4 separate regions of the Homo sapiens genome follow, and regions 1, 3 and 4 are each linked to region 2. Evidence: promoter capture Hi-C in 16 types of primary human blood cells and fetal thymus (Javierre and others, 2016). All regions are on one chromosome and are shown on one strand. Each heading gives the region's core, a stretch centred on a gene start or on the middle of the fragment in contact. The rest is flanking DNA. Distances are from core to core; before and after follow the strand shown.

Region 1 (5,174 bases), core at 252-2,751, 68 kb before region 2:
TGCAGTGGTGCGATCATGGCTCACTGCAGCCTTGACTTCAAAGCAGTCCTTCCACCTCAGCCTCCTGAGTTGCTGGGGCTACAGGCATGTGCCAGCATCACGGGCTAACTTTTTCTATTTTTTGTAGAGATGGGGGTCTCACTATGTTGCCCAGGCTGCTGTGAGAACACTCTTCTAAGATACAGGATATAACATCCTAGAAAGAGCCCAGGAGGTGGGGCCAACATGCTGCCTGTGTAGCCCCTGGAGGCTTGGAGAAAGCATGGCCCTCTCTAAGCAGAGGTGCCAACATTGCTGTGGCAGCCAGGGACATCCGACCTTCCCAGAGCTGTGGAGGTGGCGAATTGAGCAGGTTATTCCTGTGGCCAAGGAGGAGAACAGCCCACAAAGTCATTGCTTAATCTACACAACCAAAAGAAATCCAAGATGGGAGATGGAGGCTGAGGGCAGCTACCCCAGTGAAAAACTTCAGACCAGACCCCAGTGCCTGAAGGAGAGGCTGGGTTTCCAGGAGGAACAACTCCTTCACGGCAGTGAGTGAGTGGTCATGATTCCTCAGTTCTTCCCCAGTGGCACTTATGGCTATTTACTAGAGTTGCCACATACTAGGTAAAGAGGAATTTAAACATTTCAAGTGCTGCTAGACACAGAATCCATCTTGGCATTGATACCCAGGGACCCAAAGCCTTATTGTGGTCCCCTGGTAGTGTTGGGGCTATATGAGAGTTAGGCAATAGAGTTTTGACCCAGGCCCAACTCACTGTAGGTCCACTGCATTCAGGAATCCACCCAGAGGTCCCTTTCCCAGGTTCTATGCATGATTCAATAGACGTATCTGGTGTTTTGAGAGCAGCCACATTGATTTCTTTTTTTTCTTTTCTTTTTTTTTTAGACGGAGTTTCATACTTGTTGCCCAGGCTGGAGTGCAATGGCACAATCTTGGCTCACCACAAACTCTGCCTCCCAGATTCAAGTGAGCTCTGTCACCCACGCTAGAGTGCAGTGGCATGATCGTAGCGTACTGCAACCTCCACCTCCTGGGCGCAAGAAATGCTCCCACCTCAGCCTCCTGAGTAGCTGGGACTACAGGTGTGCACCACCACGCCCGGCTACACCACGCCTGGTCTTGAATTCCTGGGCTCAAGGAGTCCTCTTGCCTCAGGCTACCAAAGTGCTGGGATTATAGGTGACAGCCACCGCACTCGGCCAAAATTGGAAGAATATATATATATATATACCCGGTGAAATAATCACCACAATCAAAAAAATGACTACATCCATCACTGAAAACTTTCCTTATGCCCTTCTGTGATCCTTTTCTCCCTCCCCCAAGGACCCCTTGGAGAGGCAAGGCAATGCCACAGGCAAGCACTGATCTGCTTTCTGTTTGATTCATTTGCGATTTCTAGAATTTTATATAGATGGAATCATACAATGTGTACTCTTTTGTCTGGCTTCTTTCCATTAGCATAATTATTTTGAGATTTATCTGTAGTGATGTGAATATCAATAGTTTATTATTATTTTTTCTTTTTTTCTTTTTTAGACAGGGTCTTGCTCTGTCACCCAGGTTGGAGTGCAGTTCATTCTTTTAAAATTGCTAAACAGTATTCCATAGCATGGATGTGCCATAATTTATGCATTCTTCTTTTTTTTTTTTTTTTGCCCCCGAGATGGAGTCTTGCTCTGTTGCCCAGTGGCTCTATCTCAGCTCACTGCAACCTCCGCCTCCCGGGTTTAATCGATACTCCTGCCTCAGCCTCCCGAGTAGCTGGGATTACAGGCACATGCCACCATGTGCCGCTAATTTTTGTATTTTTAGTAGAGGTGGAGTTTCACCATGTTGGCCAGACTGGTCTTGAACTCCTGACCTCATGATCCGCCCACCTCAGCCTCCCAAAGTGCTGGGACTACAGGGATGAGCCACTGTGCCTGGCTGCATTCTTCTGTTGATGGACACTTGGGTTGTTTCCAGTTTCTAACTATTACCAATAAAGTGTCTATACATATTACTGTGCAGGTCTTGTGTGGACTATGTTTTCATGAAACCTGGGTAAATCCCTACGAGTGAAGTGACTGAGTCATATGGCAGGTTTAACTTTTTTATTTTTGGAAACAGGGTCTTGCAGGCCAGGCGCGTGGCTCACGCCTGTAATCCCAGCACTTTGGGAGGCTGAGGTGGGTGGATCACCTGAGGTCAAGAGTTCAAGACTAGCCTGCCAACATGGTGAAACCCCATCTCTACTAAAATACAAAAATTAGCACATTGTGGTGGCACGTACCTGTAATCCTAGTTACTTGGGAGGCTGAGACAGGAGAATCGCTTGAACCTGGGAGGTGGAAGTTGCAGTGAGTGGAGATTGTGCCACTGCACTCCAGCCTGGTTGACAGAGCCTGGGTGACATGGCAAAACAGGGTCTCGCCATGTTACCCAGGCTAGTCTCTAACTCCTGGGCTGGGCTCAAGCCATCCACCCTCCTCCACCTCCCAAAGCCCAAAGTATTAGGTGTGAGCCACCATCCCTGGCTGTATGCTTAACTTCATAAGAACCTGCCAAACTGTCTTCCGAAATGGTTGTGCCATTTCACATTCCCACCAGCAGTGCATGAATGTCCCAGTTTCTTCACACCCTCACTACCACTTGCCATGGTGAGTCTCTTTGGTTGTAGCCATCCTAGTGGGTGTGTCGCGGTGTCTCTTCATGGTTTCAATGAGTGTTTCCCTAATGACTAATGATGTTGAGCATCTTTTCCTGTGCTTATTTGCCATCAGCTTATCTTCTTTGCTGAGGTGATTCTCCAAATCTTTTATCCATTTTATTTATTTATTTATTTATTTTTGAGACAGAGTCTTGCTTTGTCACCCAGGCTGGAGTGCATCGTCGCAATCTCAGCTCACTGCAACCTCTGCCTCCCGGGTTCAAGCAATTCTCCTGCCTCAGCTTCCCAAGTAGCTGGGATCACAGTTGCGTGCCACCACACCCGGTTAATTTTTGTATTTTTAGTAGAGATGGGGTTTCACCATGTTGGTCAGGCTGGTCTCGAACTCCTGACCTTGTGATCTGCCTGCCTTGGCATCCCAAAGTGCTGGGATTACAGGCGTGAGCCACCGTGCCCGGCCTACCCATTTTTTTTTAAAAAAAAAACAGAAACAAAAATGCTACAGCGCAAGTGGCTGTTCACAGCCTTCCCTTTCCTTTGTGTCATGAGGAGGTGCGAGTGTTTGGCTGCTCCTTATGGGGCCTTTGCTGTGGGAGTGGGCAGAGATGGGAAGAGCCCAGGCTGATCCATGTTAGAACAGACCTGGGAGTTTTTGCCGGAAATCCAGCAGTCCTGTTGGAGGGGATGGGAGGGGAGAGGAAGAGAAGGCTGGAAGCTTAGGGGGAGAGAAGCAGATGGGGAGAGGGGAGGAGATACTGGAGGATCTGCTTTAAAGCGCAGCTTTGGTCGGGGGTGGGAAGGACGACATCAGGAAGTTTTGCTTTGCATCATGAGATGGGAGCCTACTCTCCACAGTCCTCCCAAGAAAACTTGAAGCAAAGCTCTCCATGACTGCTCAGGGTTTTGGACCTGCGTTACTTTTGGCTATGTCACTACATTGAGATGACATGGAGAAGGGTGGGGGTGGTTTTATCTGGGTGTTACATAAACACTGAGCAGTTGTAGCTTTATTTGTGGTGCTGGCCTTCATGGACCACTGCCTGAGATAGCAACAGAAGTACAGCGGTGGAGAGGAGTGGGTGGAGAAGCATTTTAAAAATAATATATGTTAAGAATTTTAAAATTTGGGCCAGGTGCAGTGGCTCATGCCTGTAATCCCAGCACTTTGGTAGGCCAAGGCTGGCGGATCACTTGAGGTCAGGAGTTCAAGACCGGCCTGGCCAACATGTTGAAACCCCATCTCTACTAAAAATACAAAAATTAGCCGGGTGTGGTGGTGCGTGCCTGTAATCCCAGCTACATGGGATGCTGAGACAGAAGAATTGCTTGAACCTGGGAGGGAGAGGTTGCAGTAAGCCGAGATCAGGCTATTGCACTCCAACCTGGGTGACAGAGTGAGACTCTGTCTCAAAAAAAAAAAGAGGATAAATTTCGAAATGATTATAAACCCACAGGAAGTTGCAAAAAAAAAAAAAAGTTCGAGGAAGTTTCGTGTACGTTTCACCCAGTTTCCCCCAATGATAACATCTTCTCTAACTATGGTTTAATATCAAAGCCAGGACGCTGATGTTGATACAGTCCTCAGAGCTTGTTTGTACTTCATCAGTGTCACATGCACTCACTTGTGTGTGTTGTATGTATGCGTGTGAATAGTTCAATGCAATTTTATCACATGTGTAGGTTCGTGTAACCAGCACCACAATCAAGATACAGAATAATTATCACCACAGAAGTCCTTCATGCTAACCCTTTACCTATGTCCGCCCCCTCCTCCTCTGCCCCTAAACCCTGGCAACTGCTAATCTGATTTTCATCTGTCTATTTTGTCATTTCAAAAATGTTATATAAATGGAATCACACAGTATATGGCCTTTTGAACTGGCTCTTTTTCACTGAGCGTAATTTGCTTGAGATCCATCCAAGTTGTTGAATATATCAATTGTCGGTTCCTTTTTATTGCTGAGTAGTATTACATGGTATGGGGGTATCAAAGTTTCTTTAACCATTCACCCATTGAAGAGCATTTGTGTTTTTTCCAGTTTTTGGCAATTGTGAATAATGCTGCTGTGGACATTTGTGGCCAGGTGTTGGTGTGAACAGTTTTCATTTCTCTGTGATAAATGTGAGTGTGGTTTCTGGGTTTTATGGCCAGTATATATTTAGTTTTATAAGAGACTACCGGCTGGGCATGGTGGCTCACACCTGTAATCCCAGCACTTTGGGAGGCTGAAGCGGGAGGATCACCTGAGTTCAGGAGTTCAAGACCAGCCTGGCTAACATGGTAAAACCCCGTTTCTACTAAAAATACAAAAAATTAGCCAGGCATGATGGTGCGCACCTGTAATCCCAGCTACTCAGGAGGCTGAGGCAGGAGAATTGCTTGAACCCAGGAGGCGGAGGTTGCAGTGAGCCGAGATCTCACCATTGCACTCCAGCCTGGGCAACAAGAGCAAAACTCCATCTTAAAAAAAAAAAAAAAGAAAGAAAAAAAGAAAGAAACTACCAAGCTATTTT
Region 2 (5,171 bases), core at 2,354-4,853:
CTTTGGGAGGCTGAGGCAGGTGAATCACGAGGTCAGGAGTTCAAGACCAGCCTGGTCAAGATAGTGAAACCCCATCTCTACTAGATATACAAAAAATTAGCCAGGTGTCGTGGCAGGAGCCTGCAATCCCAGCTACTCGGGAGGCTGAGGCAGGAGAATCACTTAAACCCGGGAGGTGGAGGTTGCAGTGAGCTAAGATTGCACCACTGTCCTCCAGCCTGGGAGACAGTGCAAGACTCTGTCTCAAAAAAAAAAAAAAAAAAAGTCCAATGGATCATTTGAAGTCTGACTTATTTCACTTAACGCATCTGAGAGTTATTCAAGTTGTTGTATTGAATAATGGCTTGCTCCTTTTTACTGCTGAGTAGTTGTCCATTGTATGGATACACCACACACAGTTAGTTTATCCAGTCAGCCACTTTTGGGTTGTTTCCAGTTTGGGACCATACTGGAGATTTTCAGACACCTCTCTCAGGAACTGATAGAATATGAGATCCAATTAATTAACAATATAGAAGATTTGGCTTTGATTAACCAACCTGACTTAACTGAAATATACAGAATATTCACTCTTTTTCAAGGGCATATGGGGCATTTATCAAAACAGAACATATTTTGGGCCATAAAGAATGTATCAACAGATTTCAGAAAATCTCTGCCTGATGTGTGATTAAATTGGAACTCAGCAGCAGGAGGGTAGCTAGAAAATCCCCTAATATTTGGAACTAAGCAATGTCCTTCCAAATAAGTCATGGGCCAAAAGAGAAGTCAAAATGGAAATTTAAAAGTCTCTTGAGCAAAATGATAGTGAGAAAAAAACACCAATTGTGAGAGAGAGAGTAAAGCAGTGCTTAACAAGCAGATATATAGCTTTAAGTCCATAGAGTAGGAACGAAAGCTGAAAACCAATGAACCTACCCTCCAACTTCAGAAACTAAAAAGGAAGAAGGAAGGAATGAGAGAAAGACAGTTAATACTCCCCCAAAGGAGAGCTACAAACACAATGAAACTAAGAGCAGAGATTCATGAAATAGAAAGTACAACAGAGAAAGCTGAACAAAGTCAAAAGTTGTTTCTTTAAAAAAAATTATAAAACTGACAAAACCCTAACAAGACTGATCAAAAAAAGAGAGTGAAAAACACAGAGGTCCCCAATATCAGAATCCAAGTGGGACATAGCTACAGATTCTACAAACATCTGCGGGATAATATAAAAGATGTTATAAACAACAATATGAGGATGTCAGAAAATCTGAAAATTTAGAGAAAATGGGCAAAATCCATAAAAAACACAATTTGCAAAAGTTACATAGGAAGAAGCAAATAATCTACATGGTCCTATATATTAAAGAAAATGAACCTGTCATTAAAAACCTTTCTACAGTGAAAATCCAGGTGCAGAGAGCTATTAATATTCTCACTGAATGGGTGTATTCTTATTGAAAATTCATGGAGCACAACTTTATGATTTTTGTCTATGCATGTTATACTTACAAAAAATTATCCTTGGGAGGCTGAGGCGGGAGGATTGCTTGAGCCCAGGAGTTCGAGGCTACAATGAGCTATGATTGTGCCACTGCACTCTAGCCTGGGGGACAGAATGAGACCCTGTCTCAAAAAAAAAAAAAAGCTATAAAAGTTTACTTAAAATGAGTAAACAAATAAATAATATGGGGAGTGGTAGGTGGGCATACAGATGAAACAGAATTGGCCATGTATTGATAATTGTTGAAGTTGGGCCATTGAGTTTATTGTATATACCTTTTTAGCCGTTACTATTATAAGCGTTTAAAATCTTACATAATAAAATATTGTTTGTAAAAAATAGTAAGATCATATTACTTTGTGCAAAACCCTCCACCTCCCTCTGAGTCAAAGCCACAGAGGGCTGATGGCTGGCCAGGCTCTTCGCGATATGGTCCACCTGGCAGCTCCTGCAGGCTCCTCTCTACCACACTCACTCATCTCCACTTGGCCTCCTTCTAAGGCATCCTCCACCTCAGGGCCTTTGCATGTACTGTTCTCTTTGCTGAAAATGTTCATTCCTCGGATTCAGCATAGCTTGCCTCAGTTAGGTCTTAGCTCAGATATGATCCTTTCAGCCAAGATTTCCCTGATCACCCAAAATAAAATCCCCAACCCAGCAGGGAAGGGTGGTGGTGAGAAACTACAGTTCTAGCTACTCAGGAGGCTGAGGCAGGAGGCTCACTAGAGTCAGGAAGTTCCAGGCTGTAGAGCATAGTGATTGCACCTGTGAATAGCCACTGCACTCCAGCCTGGGCCACACAGTGACACCTCCCCTTAAAAAATAAAAAAGAATCCCCCACCCTACAAGCTCCCCTCCCCCTCCCTTCGCTGGCTCCCTCTCCCTGCTGGGCCTCTCTGTGGGATCTGCAGCATCTGACACATGAACTATTTATGTGTATTTTTATTCACTGCCTACTTCCCACAAGAATGCAAACTCCAACCAGACAGAGACATTCACAGCCGAATCCCAGTGCCCCATCTTACACCTGGCATACAGGTGTTCAAGACACAAGGACTAAGTGAGTAAGCAAGGTCCTCAGCCTCTTCAAGGGGTGCTGTGGGGCTCCTCCCCATTTTTTCACACAGACCCCTCCACCTGGGGACATCGTCGCCCCAGACCTGTTTCTCACTGGCCCTCGTCTGACTGCCTGCAAGAGTCACTCTGGGCCACCCTGGGGTCAGGCCACAGGGTGTCCGTTCAAGAGAAGGTGACCCTTCAGAGCGACAGGAAGTTCCAGTGGACGCCAGAAGACCTGTGTCCTGCTTTAGTGGTTCTGAAATCTTTCAAGGTGGCTTTGGAGCCTTGCTCTGCCACTTATAGGCTCTGAGACCCTGCAGGGTAACCGCACTCCCTGTGCATCAGTTTACTAACCTGTCCAATGGGAACAAATCCACCACCGACCTTACAGGGCGATTAAGATGGTTAAGGGGAGTGACCCAAGGGGCCAGGACTTGCCCACAGAAGGGCTTTCACCGTCTGATTCCACTGACAAAAATTTTGCCAGCTCTGCGGGAGTCCCCAGAGGGCCTTTTAAATGCGGTGGCCGCATCGCCTCCTAGCTTGTCTGCTGCCTGATCCTTTTTTTTTTTTTTTTTTTTTTTTTTTTGAGACGGAGTCTCACTCTGTTACCCAGGCTGGAGTGCAGTGGCGCGATCTCGGCTCACTGCAAGCTCCACCTCCCGAGTTTACACCATTCTCCTCCCTCAGCCTCCCGAGTAGCTGGGACTACAGGCGCCCGCCACCACGCCCGGCTAATTTTTTTTTTTGTATTTTTAGTAGAGATGGGGTTTCACCGTGTTAGCCGGGATGGTCTCGATCTCCTGACCTCGTGATCCGCCCGTCTCGGCCTCCCAAAGTGCTGGGATTACAGGCGTGATGCCTTATCCTTTTTAAATGAAAGCCTGGCCGCCCTCTCCCGGCGCCCGCCCTGTCCCAGTGCCCTCTGCTCGAGCCCCGTCCCGCGCCCTACCTCCCCCTGCACCTTTGCCCCGCACCCTCCTCCCTCCGCGTCCCGCGCCCGCCCGCTCCCCCGCTCCCCGCGCTCTCGCGCCCGCTCCGTGCCCGCTCGGCGCTCGCTCCGCGCTCGCTCGTTCGCTCGCTCGCTCGCGCTCCCCGGCGCCGGCTGCGGAGGGAGCTGCTCTGCCCGCAGCTGGCGCAGCGCGGGGGCGGCCGCGGGTGGGCGGGTGCCGCGGGCCCGGGCGCCGAGCATGAGCCGCCGCCGGCGCCGGCCGCGCGCTGCTCGGGGCCCGACTGCGGCGCGAGGGCGGCGCGGGAGCGACGCTGGCCCGGACCGAGGTAGGCAGCGGCCGCGGACCCTCAGTGCCTCGGGGCCCCCGCCCGCGCCTGGGGCCGTGCCCTCCGGTCGCCGGCGCGGGCAGGGCGCGGCGTGCGCGGGCCCGGGGTCCCTCCCGGCGCGGCCGTCGTGGGGCCGGGGCGCGGGCTCCGGGCGCGGGGCGGGGGACGCGCGCGGGGAGGGCGGCCGGGATCCCGGCGCGCGGAGTTGCTGAGAACTCCGCCCCGGGCTGGACGGCGCCAGGACCCCCTGCACCCTCCGCCCCTTCAGGGCACCTGGCGGGCCGGGCCGGGCCGGGCCGGGCGTGGCAGGAGCGCACGCGGCGGGCGGGCGTGGGCACTGCGGGCAGGTTCGCTGCCCGGGGCCTGGCGTGGGGGTGGGGGCTGGGGAATCGGAGGAGCTCAGGGCTGCGCAGTTGGAAGTTTCCATTTGCTCTTCTGCATTCTGGGCCCCGCCGTGGTATCTCACGCCCTTGCTGTTTGGCGAGGAATTGGGGCTTGAGCTCTGCATTTGGGGGAGAGGTCCAGGGCCATGCCAGGTGTCTCCCTCTCCCTGCTGGGCAAGGGTCATTTGAAGGACCACGCTCTCTTTGCCCCAGGCCTTGCCGGCCCCAGGAACGGGGCAGGTGCAGCTGGTTCTGGTCCGAGGGTCGGTGAGTGAGAGGTGGGGGCGGGAGTCCCCTGCTGTGTGTGGAGGGACGCGCTGGCAGGTTCCTGTGCCCTGCATTTCTGGCTGCCTCTGGGTGCTGGACCTGGTGGATATTTACAGAGAGGCCGCTGCCTGCCTCTTGGGAGCCACCTGGGGGCAGAGACCTGGTGGTGGCCGGGGCTCCCTCCCTCCCTGCTCAGAGCAGTGAGCTTCTCCCTGGTTCACCCTCCCCACCACTGCCACTCTTCTCCCACTGTCCTGCGCAGGAAGGGCCCCGATGGCCGTCGGCCGCAGGATCCTGAAACACAGGAGTCAGGCTGGGTGCAGGGGAGCCTCCCAGAGGCCTTGGTTCCCTCTGTCCCCCCAGGGTTCTCCCGCCCCCTCCGGATGCAGTCTTGCCAGCCCAGCCTGTCCACCTCGGTGCCCTGGACTCTAAGCGGCTCTAGGGGGCCTCCAGCCGAAAGGCTACAGGTCTTGATTCGTGAACCACGGGCAGGCTGCAGGCTTCTGAGACTCAGTTTCCCCATCTGTAGACTGACACGGTTTTGATGACCTCTGAGGACATTTCCACCCTGATGTCCAGTGACACTTTGCTTTGGAACCTCAGGACCCCAGCCCAGGAAGGGGAGATCCGGAGCAGGGGGACATGGAGGACCTTGGCTGGATGGCCAGGGACACGTGGGTGGGTTCTCTGCCCCTCCA
Region 3 (4,662 bases), core at 498-2,997, 110 kb before region 2:
AGATTGCACCACTGCACCTCAGCCTGGATGACAGTGAGACCCTGTCTCAAAAAAAAAAAGGAAATACTACTCCTGCTAATTATCAGGTGACCAGAAGGATGCAAGGACTCCACCAGCTCCTCTGCCATCTGCTACAAATGACAGCATAGGCCCCATCAAAGAGGTACCTGTGTTCCTAAATGATTTCATGTGGCACCTCTGATAAGTCTCAGTAAACACTCAGGCCAAACCCTGAAACTCTGAGTGTTCTGAATCAAGGCCACGTTTTCTGCAGGAGAGGGCTAGTTACCTTTCTTTTCTTTTTCTTTCTTTTTTTTTTTTTGAGACGGAGTCTCGTTCTGTTGCCCAGGCTGGAGTGCAGTGGCGCGATCTCAGCTCACCGTAATCTCCGTCTCCCAGGTTCAAGCGATTCTTCTGTCTCCGCCTCCCAAGTAGCTGGGATTACAGGCACCCACCACCACACCTGGCTAATTTTCATATTTTTAGTAGAGACAGGGTTTCACCATGTTGGCCAGGCTGGTCTCAAACTCCTGACCTCAGGCTATCTGCCCACCTCAGCCTCCCAAAGTGCTGAGATTACAGGCATGAGCCACCATGCCCAGCCTAGTTACCTTTCAAGAAGCTGCCCCCAAGTACTTAGCAGTATGGGAGATAAGTCACCTGCACTAAGACCACCCTCATGATTTGGGTGCTGACAGATGCATCAAGTCTCAAGGCATCTCAGTTTTATTATCAGTTTTTGTTTTTTTAAAAGAATTGGGCTGGGCGCGGTGGTTCACACCTATAATCTCAGCACTTTGGGAGGACGAGGCGGGCGGATCACCTGAGGTCAGGAGTTCCAGACCATCCTGGCCAACATGGTGAAATCCCATCTCTACTAAAATTACAAAAATTAGCTGGGCGTGGGGGCACACGCCTGTAGTCCTAGCTACTCAGGAGGCTGAGGCAGGAGAATTCTTGAACCCAGGAGGCGGAGGGTGCAGTGAGCCGAGATCATGCCACTGCACTCCAGCCTGGTGACAGAGCGAGACTCCGTCTCTAAAAAAAAAAAAAAAAAAAAAAGGAATCTTACTCTGTTGCCCATGCTAAAGAGCTAAAGAGCAGTGGTGAGATGATAGCTCTCTCTTTTTTTTTTTTTTTTTTTTTTTGAGACTGGGCCTTGCTCTGTCACCCAGGCTCGAGTGCAGTGGCATGATCGCGATCACGGCTCACTGCAGCCTCAAACTCTCAAGTGATCCAACTGCCTCATCCTAAGTAGCTGGGACTACAGGCATGCACCACCACACCCAGCCTAACACTTTTTTTTTCTTTTTTTTGAGACGGAGTCTCACTCTATTGCCCAGGTTGGAATGCAGTGCACCTCTTCCTCTTGGGTTTAAGTGATTCATCTGCTTCAGCCTCCCGAGTAGCTGGGATTATAGGCGCCTGCCATCACACCTGGCTAATTTTGTATTTTTAGTAGAGACAGGGTTTCACCATGTTGGTCAGGCTGGTCTCGAACCCCTAACCTTAGATGATCCACCTGCCTCGGCTTCCCAAAGTTTTGGGATTACAGGTGTGAGCCACCGTGCCCGGTCCTAACATTCTCGAAATAACAAAACTATAGAGATAGAGGACAGTTTAGTGGTTGCCAGAGGTTAGGCCTAGGGGGCCTAAGTAGGGAGGGAAATGGGTTTGGCTATAAAAGAGGAGCATGAGGGATCCTGGTAATGAACTGGTCCAGATCTTGACTGTGGTGGTCACAGGCATCACAGGTGATAAAGTTGCACAGAACTAAACGTACATACACACACAAATGAGTGATGTAACACTGGTGAAATCTCAGTAAGGCCAATGCTTCTAGCAGTTTCAATATTCTGCTGTGATATAGTGTACTATAGCTATGCAAGAAGTTGCCACTGGGGGAAACTGGCTTATCTCTCCCCATTATTTTTTACAATTGCATGTGAATCTACAATTATCTTAAATGTAAGGTTTTTTTGTTTTGTTTTGTTTTAGTTTGTTTTGTTTTAGTTGTTTTAGTTTGTTTTGTTTTAGTTTGTTTTGTTTTAGTTGTTTTAGTTTTGTTTTAGTTTGTTTTGTTTTAGTTGAGAAAAAAGATGCAGGCCAGGTGCTGTGGCTCACGCCTGTAGTCCCAGCATTTTGGGAGGCTGAGGTGGGAGGATTGCTTGAACGCAGGAGTTCCAGACCAGCCTAGGCAACACAGTGAGAGCCCATCTCTACATAAAAAAAATTAGCTGGGCCAGGTGCAGTGGCTCTTGCCTGTAATCCCAGCACTTTGGGAGGCTGAGGTGGGTGGATCACCTGAGGCTGGGAGTTCGAGACCAGCCTGACCAACATGGAAAAACCCCGTCTCTACTAAAAAAAAAAAACAAAATTAGCCAGGCATGGTGGCACATGCCTGTAATCCCAGCTAATCAGGAGGCTGAGGTAGGAGAATCACTTGAACCCAGGGGGCAGAGGTTGTGGTGAGCCGAGATCATGCCATTGCACTCCAGCCTGGGCAACAAGAGCGAAACTCCATCTCAAAAGAAAAAATTTGCTGGGCATAGTGACACGCGCCTGTGGTCCTACCTAATCTGGAGGCTGAAGTGGGAAGATTGCTTTAGCCTGGGAGGTTGAGGCTGCCATGAGCTGTAATCATGCTACTGCACTCCAGCCTGGGTGAGAGAGTGAGACCCAGTTTTAAGAAAAAAAAGAAGAAAATAAAAAAAATACAGAAATTAAAAAAAGAGAGCTGGGTGCCATGGCTCACGCCTGTATTCCTAGCACTTTGGGAGGCTTAAGCTCAGGAGTTTGAGACTAGCCTGGGCAACATGACGAGACTTCATCTCTACAAAAAATATAGCCGGGTGTGGTGGCATGTGCCTGTAGTTCCAGCTACTTGGGAGGCTGAAGCAGAGGTTGCAGTGAGATGAGATTGCATCACTGCACCCCAGCCTGGGCGACAGAGCCAGACTTTGTCTCAAAAAAAAAAAAAAAAAAAAGTATTATTTTAAATCAGAATAATAAGTCCTTTCTCTAGTCCTCACCTTTGGGTTCTGAAACAATACCTTTTTTTTTTTTTTTTTGAGACCGAGTCTCACTCTGTTGCCAGGCTGGAGTGCAATGGCACGATCTCAGCTCATTGCAACCTCCGCCTCCCGGATTCAAGCAATTCTCCTGCCTCAGCCTCCTGAGTAGCTGGGATTACAGACATGTGCCACCACGCCCAGCTAATTTTCTATTTTTACTAGACACGGGGTTTCACCATGTTGGTCAGGCTGGTCCCGACCTCAGGTGATCTGCCCGCCTCAGCCTCCCAAAGTGCTTGGATTACAGGCTTGAGCCACTGTGCCTGGCAATAGCCTGAGTTCTGATTCCAAACTCACAAGGCCAACTCCCAGGTACAAGAGGGAAAAGATGATCTGAAAGACTAGAGAACAATTTTTTTTTTTTTGCAAACTTTTAAACTTGATTATTTTGGGGTGCTAGGTTAGAAGTTGGTTTACTTTGTGAGTAAATGTCTCTGTGATGTTTGTTTTCTTTCTTTCTTTTTTTTTTTTTTTGGAGACAGAGTCTCGGTCTGTCACCCAGGCTGGAGTGCAGTGGTGCGATCTCGGCTCACTGCAACCTCCACATCCTGGGTTCAAGTGATCCTCCCACCTTAGCCTCCTGAGTAGCTAGGATTACAGGCATGAGCCACTGCACCCGGCCAATTTTTGTATTTTTAGTAGTGACAGGGTTTCACCATGTTGGCCAGGCTGCTCCTGAACTCTGGACCTCAAAATGATCCTCCCACCTCGGCCTCCCAAAGTGCTGGGATTACAGGCGTGAGCCACTGAACCCAGCCCTGAAAAATAAAAGATTTTTAAAATAAAAAAGTGAGGAAGGATGTATAGTCACCCAGCAGCACAGTCCCTGGGCTCTGTCTTTGACAATGATAAACATCGGGAAGGCAACAGGCCCCAGTCCTTTGGAAACAGGGCTCAGGAGCAGGACACCAGGGTTGGAGGCTGGCTGTGGAATTCGTTAGCCCATGAGAACCTCTGGGTGCCTCCTCTCCTCTAACCTAACCCTAACCCTAATGTCATCCGCATCACATAGGTTGCTAGGAAAATTTGACATGTGTGAAGTGTTTACAGTGGTGTCTGTCACTCAGTAAATCCCCAATTGAGTGGAAATGACACTTTGCTTTCTCTGGTCCCCCCTACCTCTCCCCACAGCCCCTCAACTAGGAGAGGATGACAAGGGGAAATCACCCACCAGCTCTGAAACAGGCCCCAGGAAGGGGTCTCTGACGCACAGCCAGTAATCCCACAAAGGGAAGCCTGGAGAGCCTCTGTCATGCCCTAGTCAGCCCATTCCTCACTCCCAGAAGGGAGAGAGGAGAGCTCGTTTCCCCTGGGAACCAGGGTCCCAACTCCAGGGCCTGGCCTTGTCCATCTGGGGCTAACACTGACTCCATCCTCCACTGTCATCCAGACCTGGCCTCCCATCAGTTTCTGACTCCTCCCACCATGATTTTCCCAGGTTCCATGAGCGAGAGCCGTCACCCTCCACATCAGAGAGATAAGCCTGTCACTGGACAGTCACACCTAGGGACTCGTGTGGTGGGGCCTCCTACATAAGTGGTCACTTATAGGACTTGGGGGAACTGTGACACCTGTCCAGGAGAAGTTT
Region 4 (5,133 bases), core at 1,266-3,765, 95 kb before region 2:
TATAAATACTGGGTTTAATACCTAAGAAGATATGTTCATTAACCCAGGGACTGACTTTGCATCACTTCCAGTGTAAAAGGTGTTGCTGCAGATTGAGTGTGTGGCCAGAAATTGGGGGCCTCTCAGAGGGCACACAGTGCTAAGGCATGGTACACACCGTGGATGAGGTGATGTACCATTGTGCTTGCAGAAGGTACACTCAAAGACCTGGATTCCCAATCTCTGGATCTGTCCAAGCCTCAACTTGTCCCCTGCCTTGGATGGGTATCAATACCACCTGGCTGAGGTGAAGTTTTCTTTCCACCTGTTAAAGGTTATAATACCTCACAGCAATAGGAATAGGAATGGTGGATCCCTGAAGAGGGCAGAAGTTGTTGCGGGGTGGGGATGGGGGCAGGCAAAAATGCTAGGGCCTTCTGGAGAAGTGCATCTGAGGTTCCTTTTGGAGACCTTCCAAAGCAAAGGTGGCTTTTGGGACTTACAGGACCCCTTTCCTACGAATGCCTGCTTTCTTGAGGCTTAGTCTCCGGCTTAGCCTGATGGGCCAGAACTCAGCTGAGAAGGCTGGAAACTTGGGCGGAGCAGGCTGCCCTGTGCTCGCTACCAGGGCAGTGTGACCTTAGCAAGACATTTCTCTTCTCTGGAACAGTTTCCCTCTGGGGTCTCTCTCATGGTGGCCCCCTTTATCCTAGGTTACCAATCTTACCATGTATGTCTCAGGGCGCTTCCCAACTACAGTAACAGCTCTTGTAAACTGAGCAGTCACTCAACTGAGCCCTGTCTTCTGAGTTCATGCAGCATAATCAGATTCAAAGTAGACTCAGTCACAGTTCCCATTTTACGGATGAGCAAACAGGCAGAAAGAGGTAAGTCGGGGGCGCACGCAGCAAGTTAACAGCCTGAATTTGACTCCAAAGCTTGTGCTGTGAACGGTGCTTCTGAATCTTGAGGTTAACAAGCTTTCTTCACAACCTGTCCTGGGAGGGATTAATTCCACAAATGTGTACTGAAGGCTGAGCGTGGACCACCCCCTGCCCCTTGCTGCCTGTGCGTGGTCATTTTTTTTTTTTTTTTTTTTGAGACGGAGTCTTGCTCTGTTGTTGTCAGGCTGGAGTGCAGAGGCGCAATCTCGGCTCACTGCAACTTCTGCCTCCCAGGTTCAAGCGATTCTCCTGCCTCAGCCTCCCAAGTAGCAGGGGCTACAGGCGCGCGCCACCACGCCCGGCTAATTTTTAGTAGAGATGGGGTTTCACCATGTTGGCCAGGATGGTTCTCCATCTCTTGACTTGGTGGTCCACCCAACTCGTCCTCCCAAAGTGCTGGGATTACAGGCGCAAGCTACCGCACCCAGCTTAGACTGTCTGTTTTGAGGCAGAGGAGGAAATCCGAGGTCCCTTGCCCCGAGGCCTTTCCCAGCTGTCTCCACGAGGACTACTGGACTCCCGCCTGGACCCCCGCCCTGTGAGTGTCCCCTGCTCTTCCCGTCTCTCCGCAGATTCCTCGGGCCCATGGATGTGGAGCCCACTCCCTTGGAGGGCCCTGGGGAGGGAGGCAGCCGACTCCGCTCACCCCCTGCCTGTGCTAGGCAGGCGAGCAGCGTCAGGCGCGGCTGCTGTCCTAGGGCTCCGCCTTAGGCTGACTCCCGCGTGTAGGGCAGAGATGGGACAGGGCCCTTAGCGCAGGGGGCTTTGGGCCCTGAGGACAAGGCGGCACGGAAATGGGGCGGAGATCTCCCCGGCAGCGACGACCCTCGGGACTCTAAAAGTTAGGCCCACTTAGGCCGCCAGAAACGACCCCACGGCCTCTGGGAGGCCTTCCCGCAAGGGGCCGCGAGAGAGCCAGAGGAAGGAGGACTGCGCTGGCCGCCAGCCAATCAGCACCAAGGAATGTCTATGAGGCTGGCTCGCGGGAGAAACCGCCAGTGAGGCGAGGGCCCAGGAGGTGTGGGCGGGGCTTTCCTCCGCGGAAGTGGTCCCGACCCCCTTCGCGTGGATTGGCTGCTCCCACTCACCTGCAAGCCCCTGCTCTACCGCGCTTGCGCAGTCGTTTTCCGTGTAACGCGCGTCTCGGGTTACTTCTTTGCTTGAGTCTCAGTCCATTTGTTTACCCATATGTGCTGCGCTATGTCGTGATGGTGGCGGTCTTCGGTAACGGGGACCTTGGAGGCTGGGAGGGATAACTGGACGTGAAGGGCCAGCACTGGGGGCGAGCTCAGGGCGGTCAGGGCGGAGGGATGGGCGCGAAGAGTGAGGCCTGCAACCCCGCAGGGGGCCCGGGACCCTGGGGAGTTTCCTGCTGGGGTGAGACAGTTGTTAGGTTTGCATTTCAGAACGTTCTGGTAGGGGCTGTGTAGCAGGGTGAGAATGAAGACCTGTGCAAGAAGAGAAGCCGAAAGGGTTCAAGATGGTAGGCAAAGTCATTTGTCATCAACGTTTGCTCGTTCCGCACCTGGGAGAACGCGAGTGCTTTCCTTCTACTGCACAGGTCACCTCTTAGCCCCCTGTTGCAGCTCCTACTCATGCTTCTCCTATACCAGACTTCTTAGCTCTTGGGCACCTCCCTTTCATTTCCTGCAGGCACTTCACAGTCAACAACTGTTAAACTTTTCCGTTCCCCCACCATCTCTGACCTTTCAGAATTTCCCATCTCAGGTGGGTCTCTTTCCCACGTGGTCCCACAGGCCACCACTAAACCCAGTCATATGGAGATATCTGCTGAAATGTGTGCCAGCTCCTCAGGATATGACCCCCTCAAGGACATGGACAGTGGTCCAAAGTCACAGCGCTCAGCATACAGTCTGACTCCACCAAAGGGAAGTTAGGCAACTCGGTTCCCTGTCCCCCCCGCCCCCCCAGTGAGAGCCCATCCTTCTAGTTCTTCCATATCTCACGTATTCAATCTTTTCTCTCCATCCTAATTCTCATCCTCTCCCAAGGACCACTGTGAGCCATTTCCACTCTGTCCAATTCAACAATTGCCTCACCTGGGAAGCCACCTTTCCTGTTCACCTGCCTCCCCTCTGGGAGGCCCACCTTTCCCAAACCCCACATCACAGGTATGGGTGTATCTGTCTTGACCACTCACCTCCCTTTTCTCCCAGGGCTGTGATTTCAGGTCACTCAGCTTCCTGTCCCAGAGACCTTGGCACATGGATGGAATTCATTGTGGGAACTGGATGGATGTGTGAATTAACTATTGAGTAAAATGATTGATAAATCACTTGAGTAGAAAGGGCGCCATGGCTCACGCCTGTAATCCCAGCACTGGGAGGCCTAGGCAGGTGGATCCCTTGAACCCAGGACTTCGAGACCAGCCTGGGCAAAATGACAAGACCCCGTCTCAATAAAAATAAATAAATTGGCCGGGCGCGGTGGCTCACGCCTGTAATCCCAGCACTTTGGGAGGCTGAGGCTGGTGGATCATGAGGTCAAGAGACCGAGACCATCCTGGCCAACATGGTGAAACCCCGTCTCTACTAAAAATACAAAAACTAGCTGGGCGTGGTGGCGCACCTGTAATCCCAGCTCCTCGGGAGGCTGAGGCAGGAGAACTGCTTGAACCCGGGAGGCGGAGGTTGCAGTTAGCTGAGATCGCGCCACTGCACTCCAGCCTGGCGACAGAGCGAGACTCTGTCTCAAAAATAAATAAAATAACTGAGTAATATTTGGGTGGATGGATACACTTTTGGATGGATAATTAGGTCTTAACCCCCTCAGCAGGCTCTGAGATTTGGCTGCTCCCTCCTGGAAACTCACCTCTCTGACCTCTCTCCTTAGCTGGAGACCACCAGGCCCACTGCCTGCCTCCTGTCTCCACATGCATGTCTCATAGTTTGCTGAAACTTGACATTTCCTGAAATAAATACTTGGTTTCTTCTTTAAACCACCCCGCCTACTCTCTGTGCTCCATCCAAGTGGTAAAGCCGAAGGCCTGAGCATCATCCTAGACTTTATTTGCCTCCAAATCCCCATAACCAATCAAACAATTCTTGTCCATTCTGCCTCCTAAACAGCTCTGTGACTCACCCCTTTCTGTCCTCCTGTGACACACGTAAAGTGCAGTACAAGCTTTGGCATTCTAGGCCCCGCTTCAATCCCTTCTTGGGCAGTCTCCCTCAGCCCTCTCTTGCTGAACCCTAGAAGCTCCTGCTATTTCGTTTCTGGGCCACTCTTCTATTCCCGTATTTATGTAATAGAGTAGTCTTTGAATGTTTGCTCTCATTTCTGAAAAACCACATATCCATTCCACAGTTTTATGTTGCTAAAGTTTCTCATCATAAGCTCAAATAGTTGCAAAAGATACAATTTCTGGTATGTTTTAATATTTATATTTTAAAGTAAAATGGCTACATGAGTTGTAATATATCTAGTGGAATCTGAACACCATACATACCATTTTTTTTTGAGATGGAGTTTCGCTCTTGTTGCACCATACTATTTTTATTCCAAATCTCCATTTGAAGATTTACTTAACTCTTGTTTAATATTAGTTACTCCATATTGCCGCCTCCTTTTTTTTTTTTTTGGCCTGAGTTGAGTCTATTTCCTTCCTCTGTCACCCACCGAACTTAACCTAAGTAATATATTTTTATTCTTGGAAGTCTTCTATTTTTGAGACTGAGTCTTGCTCTGTCGCCCAGGCTGGAGTACAGTGGTGCGATCTCGGCTGACTACAACCTCCACCTCCCTGGCTCAAGCAATTCCCCTGCCTTGCTTCAGCCTCCTGAATAGCCGAACATCACCATGTCCGGCTAATTTTTTTGTATTTTTTGTAGAGATGGGGTTTCACGATGTTGGCCAGACTGGTCTCAAACTCCTGACTTCAGCCAATGTGCCCATCTGGGCCTCCCAAAGTGCTGGGATTACAGGCGTGAGCCACCGCACCCGGCCATTCTTGGAAGTCTTTTACTGGCCACATGTTGAAACACTCCTCTTCCTTTCTGTGTCTCCCTGGCACATCACCTGATGCCTGCAGTCACTGAGAGCCTGTTCCCTGGCACCTTGTTTTCAACATACAGGTTGAGCATACCTAATCCAAAAATCCAAAATTTGTCTGGGTGTAGTGGCTCACACCTGTAATCCCAGCACTTTGGGAGGTCAAGGTGGGTGGATCCCTTCAGCTCAGGAGTTTGAG

What was found. The method cuts DNA at HindIII sites, captures the fragments that hold promoters and counts their contacts. A CHiCAGO score of 5 or more calls a contact.
Region 1: a contact is called between a fragment that was not itself captured here and the fragment with the promoter of RASGEF1A in region 2, in 1 of 17 cell types (neutrophils). The highest score is 6.7, in neutrophils.
Region 3: a fragment that was not itself captured here is called in contact with the fragment with the promoter of RASGEF1A in region 2 in 1 of 17 cell types (neutrophils); the score reaches 5.9 in neutrophils.
Region 4: a contact is called between a fragment that was not itself captured here and the fragment with the promoter of RASGEF1A in region 2, in 1 of 17 cell types (neutrophils). The highest score is 8.1, in neutrophils.

Annotation. Positions count from the first base shown.
Region 1 is chr10:43,331,349-43,336,522 of GRCh38, reverse strand. The region is part of intron 2 of LOC105378271 (a long non-coding RNA gene); the gene reads right to left. LOC124902414 (a long non-coding RNA gene) reads left to right here and starts at 115. Exons shown (of 2, transcript XR_007062130.1): 1 at 115-537; 2 at 893-2,009. The HindIII fragment of the contact is 3,753 bases long and covers 1-3,377 here.
Region 2 is chr10:43,265,497-43,270,667 of GRCh38, reverse strand. RASGEF1A (RasGEF domain family member 1A) reads left to right here and starts at 3,603. Exons shown (of 13, transcript NM_145313.4): 1 at 3,603-3,823. RefSeq lists an enhancer at 4,098-4,973. The HindIII fragment of the contact is 10,296 bases long and covers 1-5,171 here.
Region 3 is chr10:43,378,068-43,382,729 of GRCh38, reverse strand. No RefSeq gene overlaps it. Among named protein-coding and RNA genes, the nearest start is that of FXYD4, 8.8 kb to the right of the region's middle. RefSeq lists a silencer at 1,880-1,929. The HindIII fragment of the contact is 9,118 bases long and covers 1-4,662 here.
Region 4 is chr10:43,359,181-43,364,313 of GRCh38, reverse strand. No RefSeq gene overlaps it. Among named protein-coding and RNA genes, the nearest start is that of FXYD4, 9.9 kb to the left of the region's middle. RefSeq lists enhancers at 2,125-2,214, 1,812-2,724. The HindIII fragment of the contact is 3,108 bases long and covers 962-4,069 here.